3 separate regions of the Homo sapiens genome follow, and all the other regions are linked to region 2. Evidence: promoter capture Hi-C in human tissues and cell types (Jung and others, 2019). All regions are on one chromosome and are shown on one strand. The core of a region is centred on a gene start or on the middle of the fragment in contact, and the rest is flanking DNA. Distances in the headings are between cores, read along the strand shown. Region 1 has its middle 14 kb from the start of MSTO1. Region 2 holds the start of HCN3 (hyperpolarization activated cyclic nucleotide gated potassium channel 3). Region 3 holds the start of YY1AP1 (YY1 associated protein 1).

Region 1 (4,337 bases), core at 1,820-4,319, 350 kb before region 2:
TGTAATTTACATCCTACCAGGGGTCCTCAAAGCCTATCCCCATACCCAGGTCTCCCCATGGCTCCCCATCCCACTAGTAAGGACTCTCCTTTGGCCTTATCAGCCCAAAAGGAACCAGACAAAAAGATAGTCAAGGAACCAAAAGGCACCAATGGACCTTGATTGTGCCCCCTCCAAGCCGTGGGAGGAGGAGACTTTGGCTCAGCACAAGTACATGTCCCCTTTTCCCTCTCAGGCTTAAAACAGATCAAACTGGACCTAGGAAAATTCTCAGATAACCTGATGGATATGTAGACGTCTTACAGGGATTAGGACAATCTTTTGATTTAGCATGGAGAGATATTCTGTTGTTTTTAGGTCAAACATTAACTCCTAACAAAAAAGAGGCCACCTTAGCTGCGGCCCAGGAGTTTGGGGATCTCTGGTACCTAAGCCAGGTAAATGATAAAACGACATCAGAAGAAAGGGAACAATTCACCACAGGCCAATAGGCAGTTCCCAGTGTGGATCCCCACTGGGACCTCGATTCGGAGCATGGAGACTGGAGTCACAGGCGTTTACTGACTTGTATACTAGAGGGATTAAGAAAGACCAGAAAAAAGCCAATGAATTACTCAATTATGTCCACCATAACACAGGGAAAGGAAGAAAACCCTACGGCATTTTTAGAGAGGCTAAGGGAGGCATTAAGAAAACATACCTCTTTGTCACCTGACTCTATTGAAGGCCAGCTAATTTTAAAGGATAAGTTTATCACTCAGTCAGCTGCAGACATTAGAAAAAAACTTCAAAAGTCTGCCCTGGGCTCCGAGCAAAATTTGGAAACTCTATTAAATTTGGCAAATTTGTTGTTTTATAATAGGGATCAGGAGGAGCAGGCTGAACGAGACAGACGAGACAAGAAAAAGGCTGCCACCTTAGTCATGGCTCTCAGGCAGACGAGCTTCAGTGGCTCTGAAAGAAAGAAAGGCTGGGCAGGCAACCCACCTAACCGGGCTTGTTATCAGTGTGGCTTACAGGGTCACTTCAAAAAGGACTGCCCAAACAACAATAAGCCACCCCCTTGTCCATGTCCCTTGTGCCAGGGAGATCCCTGGAAGGCACACTGCCCCTTAGGGTGAAGGTCCTCTGGGCCAGAGGCCACTAACCAGATGGTCCAACAAGACTGAGGGTGCCCAGGGCAGGCACCAGCCCAATGCCATCACCATCACAGAGCCCCAGGTAAGCTTAACCAGTGAGGACCAGGAAACTAACTTCCTCCTGGACAATGGCGTGGCCCTGTCAGTTTTACTCTTCTGTCCCAGACAACTATCCTCCAGGTCTTTCACCATCAAAGGGGTCTTAGGACACTCAGTCACTAGGTATTTCTCCCACCCCCTAAATTGTGACTGGGGAACCTTATTATTCTCACATGCCTTTCTTATTATGCCTGAGAGCCCTACTCCTTTACTAGGGAGAGACATATTAGCTAAAGCAGGGGCCATTATATACTTGAATATAGGAGAAGGAATACCTGTTTGCTGCCCTACTCAAGGAGGGAGTTAATCCTGAAGTCTGGGCAGAGGAAGAGCAAGAGCAGTATGGACAAGCAAAAAATGCTTGTCCAGTTCAAGTTAAATTAAAGGATCCTACTTTCTTTCCTTATCAAAGCAGTACCCCCTCTGACCAGAAGCCCAACAAGGGTTACAAAAGATTGTCAAAGACCTACAAGCACAGAGATTAGTAAAGCCATGCAACAGTCCAGGCAACAGTCCTATTCTAGGCATACAAAAACCCAACAGACAGTGGAGGTTAGTGAAAGACCTCTGAATTATCATTGAGGCAGTTGTTCCCCTGTATCCAGTGCCAGGACCAGCTTGGTCAGGGAGACCCTAACCCAGCAGCACTAGAGGAATTAAAGACACACATACAGAATATAGAGGTGTGAAGTGGGAAATCAGGGGTCTCACAGCCTTCAGAGCTGAGAGCCCTGAACAGAGATTTACCCACGTATTTATTAACAGCAAGCCAGTCATCAGCATTGTTTCTACAGATATTAAATTAACTAAAAGTATCCCTTATGGGAAATGAAGGGATGTGCCAAATTAAAGGAATAGGTTGGGCTAGTTAACTGCAGCAGGAGCATGTCCTTAAGGCACAGATCACTCATGCTATTGTTTGTGGCTTAAGAATGCCTTTAAGTGGTTTTCTGCCCTGGGTGGGCCAGGTATTCCTTGCCCTCATTCCGGTAAACCCACAACCTTCCAGCATGGGCTTTATTGCCATCATGAACATGTCACAGTGCTGCAGATATTTTGTTTATGGCCAGTTTTGGGGCCAGTTTATGACCAGATTTGGAGGGGCTTGTTCCCAACAATCCAGTTGTACCTAATCCTTATACTCTACTCTCCCAGATACCAGAGGAAGCAGAATGGTTTACAGTCCTAGATCTTATGGACGCTTTCTTCTGCATCCCTCTGCATCCTAACTCGCAATTTTTATTTGCCTTTAAAGATCTGTCAAACCCAGCATCTCAGCATACCTCGACTATCCTGCCATTCATTTTCAGGGCTAGGATACTAGGAGGTCTAGGAACTGGCATTGGAGGCATTACCACCTCCACCCAATTCTCTTACTGTTGGGGAAAAGCTGAGTGTTGGGAAAAAAGCTGAGTGTTGGGGAAAAAGCTGAGGCAGGGCTTGCATGTCTGATATAATGTAAAAGAGTCTTAGAACAGGTCCAGGGTCCAGGGTCCAGGGTCTAAAACCCCTTGTGGCCTTTGGAACACCAAGCTCTGTGCCAAAGGGTGAAAGGCTGCCCTGCTGCACCACACTCTAAGCCAAGGGCATAAAACCCCTCATGGCTTGAATGGAATCCAGGGCTCAGGGCATAAAACCCCTTGTGGCCTCTGGAATGTGTCTAGATTTGCTGGCTCCTTGTTTCTAGCCCTCCCAGGCTCATAGATCGATTGTGTCTTAAACTAGAAGAACATGTTCCCCATTATCTCAAGTAGCAGAACATGTTCCATATGCTTCAAAGAAAATGCTAAACTGTCACAGCTGTAGATCACACACTTGATACACTGCTTTCTTTGAACCCCCACATCCTCACCACCTGCTTCTTTGTTTGATCACCAATAAATAGTGCAGGCTTCAAGAGCTCAGGGCCTTCACAGCCTCCATACTAGCATTGACCCCCTGGTCCCACTTCTTGCACTCTTAACTTATCTCATTCCTTTGACTCCGCCGGACTTCGTAGCCCCCACAGCCTGGTGTTGGGTCTGATCACCCCAACATATTACAAATTATCACAAGAGTTAAATGATGACATGGAACGAGTTGCAGATTCACTGGTCACCTTACAAAGCTAGCTTAACTCTTTAGCAGCAGTAGCCCTCCAGAATTGGAAAGCCTTAAATTTATTAACAGCTGAAAGAAGTGGAACCTGTCTTTTTCTAGGAGAAGAGTGTTACTATTTTGTTAATCAATACAGAATTGTCACCAAAAAAGGTTAAGGAGCTTCGAGACCAGATACAGTGCCAGGCACAAGAGCTCCAAGACACAGGACTTTGGAGTATTGTCAACCAATGGATGCCCTGGTTTCTCCCCTTCTTGGGACCCTTGGTGGCTATTGTGATGTTGCTTATCTCTGGACCCTGCATTTTTAACCTCCTTGTAAAATTTGTCTCTTCCAGAATAGAATCCATGAAACTGCAAATGATTCTACAGATGGAGCCCCAAATGACCACCACTAGCACCTGCTATCGAGGACCCCTAGACTGACCCACCAATCTGTTCTTGCACCATGACACTGAAGACTCCCCTCCTGAGGAAGGCTCAACTGCAGAGCCCCTTCTACACCCCAGCTCAGCAGGAAGTAGCTAGAATGATTGTTGCCCAACTTCCCAACGGCACTTGGGCTTTCCTTTTGAGAGGAGGGACTGAGGGACTAAGTGGCTAAGTTGGCTGGACTTCCTGGGTCAATAGGGACTTCCCTAAGGGAACTTTCCCCTAAGCCAAAATGAGTTATAGCTGCAAACTAAGGGATTGAACCTTCAACCAATCATATAGGGAGTTTAAGCTCTAGCTGCAGCCTGATGTTTTTAACCAATCATGCCCACCTACCCACAAGTGGATAGAAAATAAGCTAATTCTATAGGACAGAAAAAGAAAAAGGGGAGGGGTCATAAGGGGATATAAGTATAAGACACCCAAGCCAAAAATGGCAGCCCTTTCAGGTCCCCTTCCACCATGTGGAAACTTTACTTTCACTTTAATAAATCTTGCCACTGCCAAAAAAAAAAAAAAAAAAAAAGATTAAATAGAATTGTCTATAGGATTTCATTAAAATTGGGGTTA
Region 2 (4,567 bases), core at 1,076-3,575:
GAGACAATAGATGTGACAGTGTGGTACAGGCACTAGTTGGTATTATGACTCACTCACTCTTTATCCCCAGATTTCTGAAAAGGCTGCTGCTTCCCCCATCTCCAGTTATCTGCCCATTCTAGTCTAGGACCTCATGCCCTCCCCAGCCTTCTCCACCCCATTCCTCTTCTCCAACACAGTTGGACCCACGGATCCTGTTCCTCTGCTGAGGTTTGCTCATCCATGTCTCAGGGTGGGGTGGTCTATCCTGCCTTCCTCTGAATTGAGCTTTCCAGGGATGCCCTTCCCCCTCCACAGAACCTCAAACAGGGCTGCACACACAGAGAAGCTCCACAGGAGATCATGAAGCAGCAAGGCTTGAGTTCTGCATACCTTTCCTCCTCTGGCCTCCCTGTGTCCACTGGGACTCTGGCTGAGCACAGGCAGAGGCATGGGCAGGGGTGAGTGACATTGCTGTGGCAGACACCGTGGAAAGAAGAGGTCAAGAGGGAACTGTGTGAAGCCCTCATTCAGAGAATGGCACAGGAAAATCTCAGGGACTCAGTTACCTATGGTGGTTTTAATTCTAGGACACACCTAATCCCAGTGTCAACTCAGGAGCTAGCCCCTTCTGACTCGGACTGCAAAATCAATTTTCAGCCCTGAAAGAAACTTCCTCAAGTCCGGGCCTCTGGGAAGCCCCTTAGACTGTATGTTTTCAATAAACAAAAACCCTCGGCCATTCTTCTTTTCTCTCCTCGGCTGCTGAGGAGGAATCCTGTATTGTGAGACACTAAGAGAGGGGAGGGAAAGAGGGTTCGCCTAGCCATGAAAGCATCTTCACAGCCTGACTCACAGGTGGGTCACAAGCCTGGCGGGTGATGTAGTATAGAGAATGGAGAAGCACAATCAGAGGGATACCAGGCTTCTGGGGATCCGTCTGCGAGTGAACTGAGGGAAGAGAGTGAGATCCACAGGAGACTAGAAAAGGCGCACTGGCTGGGTGGGAACGAGGCAGCAAAGACAGGAGTGAAAGGAACAATGGGAGGAAGAGAGACATAGAGGGAGTGTGTATATATGTGGATTCAAGATAATGTCTGGGTCTACAACTGTATTTCGAGGCTCCAGATTCACACCTCTTCCTCTCTGCTTCTTTAGTTCCCCAGGTTAGGTGCTTTGCACACATCCCTGCCTCATCCAAGAGCTGTCCTTCATTTCCCCCAAGGACAGGGCTGCTGTCTTCCCCTAGCGACCTTGATGTAGAGGTACACCCTGACGGAGACTGTGAAATGGCCCCACCCCCACCCTCTGTTCCTTCTCTGGGAGTCACCTGGGTGGTGGTCCTGCCCCTGCTTTGCCGCCTCAGTCACTCTGAGTCTCGGCCCCGCCCCGCCGCCCCCGCCTTCAGCACTAGGGACAGCGACCAGAGCTGAGGTCTGGACCCCCCGCCCCCTTCAGCGTCCCTATTTTTCCTGGTAGTCTGTCATGCTGAACTAGGCAGGTGCTAAGGAGCGGGTGTGGGGATGGGAGATGGCGGAGCTCGGCTTCTCCCTCAGACTGGCCCCGATACTTAGAATATAATTTCCTAGATCTCCAGCAAGCAGGACTGGAGGAGGCAGGGGTCCCAAACTCTGGTAGTTCCTTTGGTCCGGATGGGGTCCCGGGTTCCTGAAAGAGGAAATCCAGGTCTCTGGAGATCCCCTGATGTCTGCTTGCCCCTTCTGGTGCCCCCAGCCTGTCCAGGCACGGAGGACCTCCGGCAGGGGATACCCGCCCAGGAATTCCCAGGCTAGACTGGTGCAAGTGACTCTCCCGCCCCACCAAGGGACCCCGGGCTGGAAATGAAGTGACCGTGGAGGGTGGGGCGGGCCGGGTCCCGGTGTCGCTGCCCGCGAGGGTGGGATTGATGTACCCTGCCCTCCCCGCCAAGCCCCCAATACCGGAAGTCGCTGTAGGGGTGGATGATCCAGGCCCCCGCTGACTTCACCCGCTCCTGCTCGATTTCCACTGCTTTGTGGCTGCCGAACACCCGAAGGGAGAACTTGTTGACCGTAGGCTGGAGCAGCGTCCCAAGGTGCCTCCTCTTAGGCTCAGGCCCAGATTTGGGGATCGGACCTGAGGCCGCGGTCGCAGGCGGGGGAGCAACGGGAGGCACCGCCTCCAGTCCAGGGGTCGCCCCTTCGCTGGCCCCCGCCGCCGGCCGCTGCTCTGCCTCCATGGCGCCCACCCCGCTTACACGCTCGGCCTCCTAGAGCCCTCTGTGGCCATCAGGTACCCGCAACCCCTCCAGAGCAGGAGTCGGCGCAGCCCCGCGGGCTCTAGCGGAGGCGTCGTAGGCTCGGAATCGCCGGCGCGCGGGGCGGAGGGGGTGTGTGCTAGACTGGCGGGCGGCGGGCGGGCTGCGCGGCGCCCCCTGGCGAGGGCCGCGCCAAGACCGGGCGGGGCTGGGACGCCGGGATCCTGGAGGAACTCCGAGAGGGGCGTGGCTTAGCAAAGAAGGCGGGGAGCGCAGCCTGAGCCAGGGAGAGGGCGTGGCCTAGCGTTGGCCTTTCATCCACTGAGAACCAGGGAGGAGGAGCCCCCTGCAGTGGCGGGAAAATCGGACGCGGGTTTGTAGCTTGAAGGACTTGGGAGGGAGAGGGATTGGGGACCAATGGAAGAAGTGGAAATGGCTTTTGGGATTCTTCTCCACTCTCGCCCAGGGACTTCTGTCCTGCTCCCGTCTTCTCTCAACACTGTCCTAGGCATATTCTTGTCTTTTGGTCTCCTCCGAACTGCTTCCCCTAGTATTTAATTTCCTAATTCATTCTGTCAGCCTTCACCAAGTGCAACTCTGCCTGTCATTGAGTGGATGCTGAGGAAACAAAAATGAATACAAAAGTCCTAGTCTTAGCATCTCCATGTAGTAATGGAAAACAACACAAAACAAAACAAAAACAAAGGCCTAGCCATAAAGCCACTGCTCATCTGTGCCCAACGACAGACAGGTAAATTGCAGTGCTATGCGAAGTGCTACAAATTCCTAAATATCTCAAATTCTCCCCTTCATCTCCAATTCTTATTACCACTGCCTCATTTCAAGCCCTCAGCATTTTTTCACTTAAATTACTTCGGAAACCTCTAAAAGAGTCTTCAACCTCTTCCAGGCCAATTCTTCTTCCATTCCCTGCCAGTTACCTTCCTAAAATCCAACTATGGCTGTGTCACTTGCTTGAAGCCCATCAAGCTTTCCCATCTTCTACAGGGGTACATTTAAGCTGCTTAGCATGGTGTACCAGGCCCAAAAAATTTGGACCTAGTTTCAACAGTCTCTCTTCTGACAGTCCCTCTCTTGAAAGCCACAGCCCCAATCATGCTGAAAGACTTTGTGCTGCCTTGTCTCTATGCTTTTGCAAATATTTTCTCTGCCTGGTATTCTCCTCCAATTCACTTTCGAACAGTTGGTTCAGATCTTGCTTTCTCTAGGAAACCTAGGAACACATTTCCAACTCTCCTTTCCTCAGGTAGGGTCTATTCTAGAGCTTTTTTACAGCAGCCAGGGCACCACTGTTTTGAGCAACTCATGTCACAGGGCTACCATTATTATTATTATTTTAGAGATGAGGTCACACTATGTTGCCCAGGCTGGTTTTGAACTCAGAGCTCAAGTGATCTTCCTGCCTTGGCTTCCCAAAGTGCTAGGATTACAGGCATGAGCATGGTCTCATTATTTATTTACAGATTTTCTCTCCTGTTAGATTGTGAAACTCTGAGAAACAGGAACCTTGCACCTGGCATAATTCTGGACACATAGTGGACATTCAGTAAATGCTTGTTGAATGAATTAATAATCTAGGAAAATGTTCCAGGAGGTGGAAGTGAAATCTTTACTTCTCTCTCCCCGACTCCTTCATTGATTGCTCTCCATGTTCTATTCCAGGGAACTTCTCTAAACTATGTCTGGTTATCTGATCTAACCTCCATCTGACCATCCTTCATCCAGCTCCTCTCTAATATTTCCTGACTTTATTTATTTACTCATTCTAGAGTCAGGGTCTTGCTCTGTTGCTCAAGCTGGAGTGCAGTGGTGTGATCATGACCCACTGCAGCCTCAAAGCAATCTTCCCACCTCAGTTTCCTGAGTAGCTGGGACTACAGGTGTGAGCCACCTTGCTCAGCTCCCTGACTTTAATATCGTTATTCTCAGATTATATTATTTCTCTTTCAATTGACCTTTCTGACCACTTCTCAATTCCTTCTGTAAAGTCTCTAACTCTTTCTCTTTCTCATTTTCTTTTTTTCTTTTCTTTTCTTTTTTTTTTTTTTTTTTTTTTGAGATAGAGTCTCACTCTGTCGCCCAAGCTGGAGTGCAGTGGCACGATCACGGGTCACTACAGCCTCAACCTCCCCAGGCTCAGGTGATCCTCCCACCTCAGCCTCCCGAGTAGCTGGGACTACAGGTGGGAGACACCATGAATGGCTAATTTTTATTTTTTATTTTATTTTATTTTAGACACAGTCTCACTCTGTCGCCCAGGCTGGAGTGCAATGGCACCATCTCGGCTCACTGCAACCTCCACCTTCTGGATTCAAGCGATTCTCGTGCCTC
Region 3 (4,528 bases), core at 178-2,677, 410 kb before region 2:
TCTATCACCGACATTACCTACTCTTTAAAAATTTTGTAAAAGGCATAAATTTGAAAAATATATCCTCATTAATCTAAATCAAGTCATTGATACAACTATTTAACAAGACGCCCGGCCTGCTTTGTTTTATTAACGACTTGGAGGGACAGAACACTACCCATTACACCCACAAACGTTATCGACATCAACAGAACTGTAAATGACAACACGGCAATACTCTGCACCTTCCCTATGCCTAGGAGCTAATTCCACTTTACATATATTATTATTTCGTGTGTGTGTGTGTGTGTGTGACGGAGTCTCGCTTTGTCGCCAGGCTGGAGTGCAGTGGCGCGATCTCGGCTCACTGCAACTTCCGCCGCCCGGGTTCAAGCAATTCTCCTGCCTCAGCCTCCCGAGTAGCTGGGGCTACAGGCGCCCGCCACCACGGCCGGCTAATATTTGTATTTTTAGTAGAGACGGGGTTTCACCATGTTGGCCAGGATTGTCTCGATCTCTTCACCTTGTCATCCACCTGCCTCGGCCTCCCAAAGTGCTGGGATTACAGGCGTGAGCCACCGCGCCCAGCCCTATCTTATTATTTCACACACCAACCCTGGAGGCATGTTTGGAGTTGCCTAATTTTTATGTACACTTTTTGATAAGGAACTAACAAAAATAACTTGCTGAAGACAAGGGAAACTGAGTCCAGAACTGAATGAGAAGCACATGGTTTCTTCATCCTCCATCACCAGGCTGTCTAACGAGGCTGAAGTACCATCCATGAGTAAGTGCGTCAAGGGCAAACAAACATCATCGCATATGGACAGTGGTGTGAAATTCGAGAAATCCGAGGAGGGTTAACAACAACAAAAAGCACACCACCACGCCGAACTTCCTCGGGTCCCAGGTTGGCAACTCAACGCCCGGGAGGAATCCCCCCCGGAGGCGCGCCGGTCTACCGGCCTCACTCCCTACCTCCTGGAGGTCCGGAGTCCCGCTCCTTTCCCTCAGCGGTACAATACCCGTGTCGGTCCATTCCCTCACCGTGAGTCGAGGACTAGTTCTCCAGACTAGGCGACCGACACACGCTGCCTGGGGCCGGCTCCAAAGCGCCCGTCCTGAGACTGCAAAAAAGGGTCGGGTCATCCGGCAGGAAACGACTCAACGCGCAGCCGCCGCGGCCTCCAACCACCGGCCGGCAGAGGGGCGCTAGGCCGCCCTCGATCCCCTCGCCGCGGTCCCATGGAGGAGGAGGCGAGCCGCAGCGCCGCGGCGACGAACCCAGGGAGGTAGGTTGTCATGGGACTCGGCCGGCCACCCTGGCAATTCCAGTCAAACGGCAAGCCAGACTCGCTTTGCCGGTCCCTTCCTCTCCTGCCCCTGCAGCCGCCAGGAATGGAACAGTCCCGCGGTGGGGACTGTGGGAGGCGCACGCGCGAGGAGTGTAGGGTGGGGGTGCTGGCGGCGGCTGCTTTGGCGGCGGTTGGTGGCCGTGCGGGCGGGGAGGGAGGGGGAGGAGAGAAGAGGAGGTGGAGAAGGCTTGGGCTCGCGCCGCTGAAGGTACGCGTGAGGGCCTGCGCTGGAGCCGGCTTGACAGGGTCTGAGGGGGAGTGGAGAACTGGGCGAGGAGGTTCCCGTGGGTGAGCGCGTACGGGATGGCTGGCTCGCAGGACGGCCGAAGGTGGTGGTTGGTGGGAGCAGCCAGCGACGAGCCCGTAGACACTCGTACGCGTGCGGGCTGACGTGCGCGCTACATGGCCGGAGTCGGGCGAAGCGGGGGACCGTGGGGAAGAACGCGAGGAGGGAGGAGTGGGAGGTTGGGGGTGTCGCTAGGCGCCCTTAGCTCCCTCCCTCTGGAGGAGCTGCCGCGGCCACTCTGCTGCCGCCGCTGCCGCCGCCATTTTGGGTTCGCTTTGCGAGGGGAAACGATCCCAGTGTCGGTTGCGGGATCCGCCTCCTCTCAGTTTGCCCCTTTAGCCCTCCACCTTTCCCTTCTCCTCTCTCGCATTTCCGCCAGTCGGCTTACCCGCTGGCCGCCTCCTGACAAGCGGGAGGGATCCGCGGTGGACCCAGGGAAGCGGAGGAGCCTGGCGGCCACCCCCTCTTCCTCACTTCCCTGTACTCTCATCGCTCTCGGCCTCCGACACGGTGAGTAGAACGATTTGGGCCGGCATTCGGGCCTAAGCACTCTCTCAGCGATTGAATCCTGGGCTTTCTGGGAGCCACTGTCATCTCCCGGACCTGGACCTCTGGGAGAGCAGTGGTGAAGATGGGGGAGGGGAGAGCAGGGAGGGGGATCCTGAGCCTACCGGGAAGTCCCTCCAGGCGGGGTGAAGGGGTGTCCCTGACAGGCAGACTCCCGGAGGGGGCTGGGAAGTAAGCGAGTGGAGGCGGAGTCGGCTGTGCCCCTGACAGGTTAGTTTGTGTTTGTAGGCATGATCGGAGCCTCCCCCATAGTCCAGTTTGTGTGTGTTTAATTAAGGGATAAGAGTGGTCGAGGACACGATCTTGAGAGGGGATTTTACCTGTGTGACAAGGTCTGTGGTGTCCCTGCCGCGTTGAACGGTATGTGGGAACGACAGGATGATCTCAGTGTTGTACGTTTAATAAATGTCACTGGTTAGTTTGTACATGGAAAGAGATGTTTTTGGTCTAGCAGACAGATGGTCTGTTGGTGTGTAGCGGCTGTGTTGGTGTGTGTATGTGAGGATGGCAAGTGTTTCCGTAAGAGTTTGCCTTTATTTGTGTAAGTGTAATGGAGTTCCCCTTATAAGTTAGCTTATTTCTTGAATAAATGTTGGGAGGTTCCTTGCAGGTTGATATGTGTGTGTATTTTAGGGATTGGGAGCCCCTAGTTACTTGTTGGGAAAGAGCGGCAATGGTAGTGTTCTGTACAGCATGTGTCTGTGAGGTCAGGGAGGGGAGAAACTTGGCATAGCCAGTTGTGGTCTTAAGAATAGTTTGTGCCTTTGGTTAGAGTGAGTTGTGTAAATGTGAAGGGCCAAAATATCTTTAACAGAATCATTGCTACAAAGCTGTAAAGAATGGGTGGCCTTATTTGTTGTCGCGGGTTTATAGTAATAGTTTACAATACAATAAGAAAGCTCTTTCAGTTTCTTTGTGATACTGAATCTCTGTGAAAATGGTAGGATGCTTTCTTCCATTTTACAAAATAGGAAATTTAGGCATAAGGAGAGAACTTCTCCAAGGCCGCATGTTAAATTGGTGACAAAGTTGGAACTGTAACTCCCATATTTTCACTACTACTGCAGCAGTATATTCAGCATACCATGGTGCCTCAGGAAGTCTTTGTCGGCAAATCTGAGTATGCTGGAAAGATAGGAGCACATAAGACTGGTTGGCTTGTATTTGGGGGAGACCGATTGTGTCAGATATGTATGTGGAACGTAGCTGTCCTTGCCGAGTCTGACCTGTATGAAATGCATATCCATGGCTATATTATTTTGGATTTATGGAGGAAGCAGAGCATTTCTGACACTTAAGGTTGTATGCGTGAGGGAGAAGGCTTTCACAGCTTAACTTGTACCAGAGCAGCTGCATGGGTGCTGACAGCTTAACTTGAAATCTGTGGGAGGAAGGATCCTTTTTCACTCATTCAACAAATATAACCATTCAATGAATGGTCCATGCCTTGAGGTGAGGATCATCAAGGTGTCTCTGTAAATAGCCTGGATGCAATCTGAGGGGAGTTGTTTTGACGGTGGTAGGTATTAAGTTGAGGGAGGCAGTGTGGAATTAAAACCAGAGAACTGTTTTTGGGTACTGGTAATTGTTAATATATGTGCCTGTGGATGTTGGAACTTCTTGGCTGGGCTGAAGGAATCCTTTGAAAGACTGATTTCGGCAGGGCGCGGTGGCTCACACCTGTAATCCCAGCACTTTGGGAGGCCGAGGTGGGCGGATCACGAGGTCAGGAGATCGAATCACGAGGTCAGGAGATCGAGACTATCCTGGCTAACAGGATGAAACCCCGTCTCTACTAAAAATACAAAAAATTAGCCGGGCGTGGTGGCGGGCGCCTGTAGTCCCAGCTACTCGGGGAGGCTGAGGCAGGAGAATGGCGTGAACCCGGGAGGCAGAGCTTGCAGTGAGCTGAGATTGCGCCACTGCACTCCAGCCTGGGCCACAGAGGAGACTCCATCTCCAAAAAAAAAAAAAAAAAAAAAAAAAAGACTGATTTCATGTAGTAAGGATCCCGTCTATGAACTCTATGAATATGAGGTAAGAATGCATGAACTAAGCCAACTTAGCTGTATTCTTCTGGAAAATGGGATGTTTCTTGATAGGCTAGATTAGTGGTTCTTAAAAGTTTTTTGGGGTCACTTATCCTTCAGAGAATCGGATGAAAGACACTGGGCCCTCAAGTTAGAAGATGAGCATAAGCGCAATCACATGATTTATATATATGATTTTAGGAACTTAAACTGTAATGAAATAGAGCCAATTTATATTTAGATCTCATTTGAAAACCTTTCATTTTCATTGTTCGGGTGTGTGGATGTTAGTATGAGTTTAAGGTGAAGGA

The links. The method cuts DNA at HindIII sites, captures the fragments that hold promoters and counts their contacts. A contact is called where the count stands out against the background at its distance.
Region 1: a fragment that was not itself captured here is called in contact with the fragment with the promoter of HCN3 in region 2 in 2 of the 25 tissues and cell types used here (aorta and dorsolateral prefrontal cortex).
Region 3: a contact is called between the fragment with the promoter of YY1AP1 here and the fragment with the promoter of HCN3 in region 2, in 2 of the 25 tissues and cell types used here (adrenal gland and spleen).

The regions. Positions count from the first base shown.
Region 1 is chr1:155,621,973-155,626,309 of GRCh38, reverse strand. It overlaps the pseudogene LOC100419798. Among named protein-coding and RNA genes, the nearest start is that of MSTO1, 14 kb to the right of the region's middle. The HindIII fragment of the contact is 8,414 bases long and covers 1-4,337 here.
Region 2 is chr1:155,275,221-155,279,787 of GRCh38, reverse strand. It overlaps HCN3 (hyperpolarization activated cyclic nucleotide gated potassium channel 3), which reads right to left and starts at 2,325. Exons shown (of 8, transcript NM_020897.3): 1 at 1,920-2,325. The coding sequence starts at 2,197. The HindIII fragment of the contact is 20,767 bases long and covers 1-4,567 here.
Region 3 is chr1:155,685,673-155,690,200 of GRCh38, reverse strand. It overlaps YY1AP1 (YY1 associated protein 1), which reads left to right and starts at 1,427. Exons shown (of 11, transcript NM_139119.3): 1 at 1,427-1,542; 2 at 2,000-2,130. It overlaps DAP3 (death associated protein 3), which reads right to left and starts at 1,110. Exons shown (of 13, transcript NM_004632.4): 1 at 1,027-1,110. It also overlaps the pseudogene LOC124904430. RefSeq lists enhancers at 962-1,011, 1,387-2,021 and a silencer at 1,502-1,551. The HindIII fragment of the contact is 25,099 bases long and covers 1-4,528 here.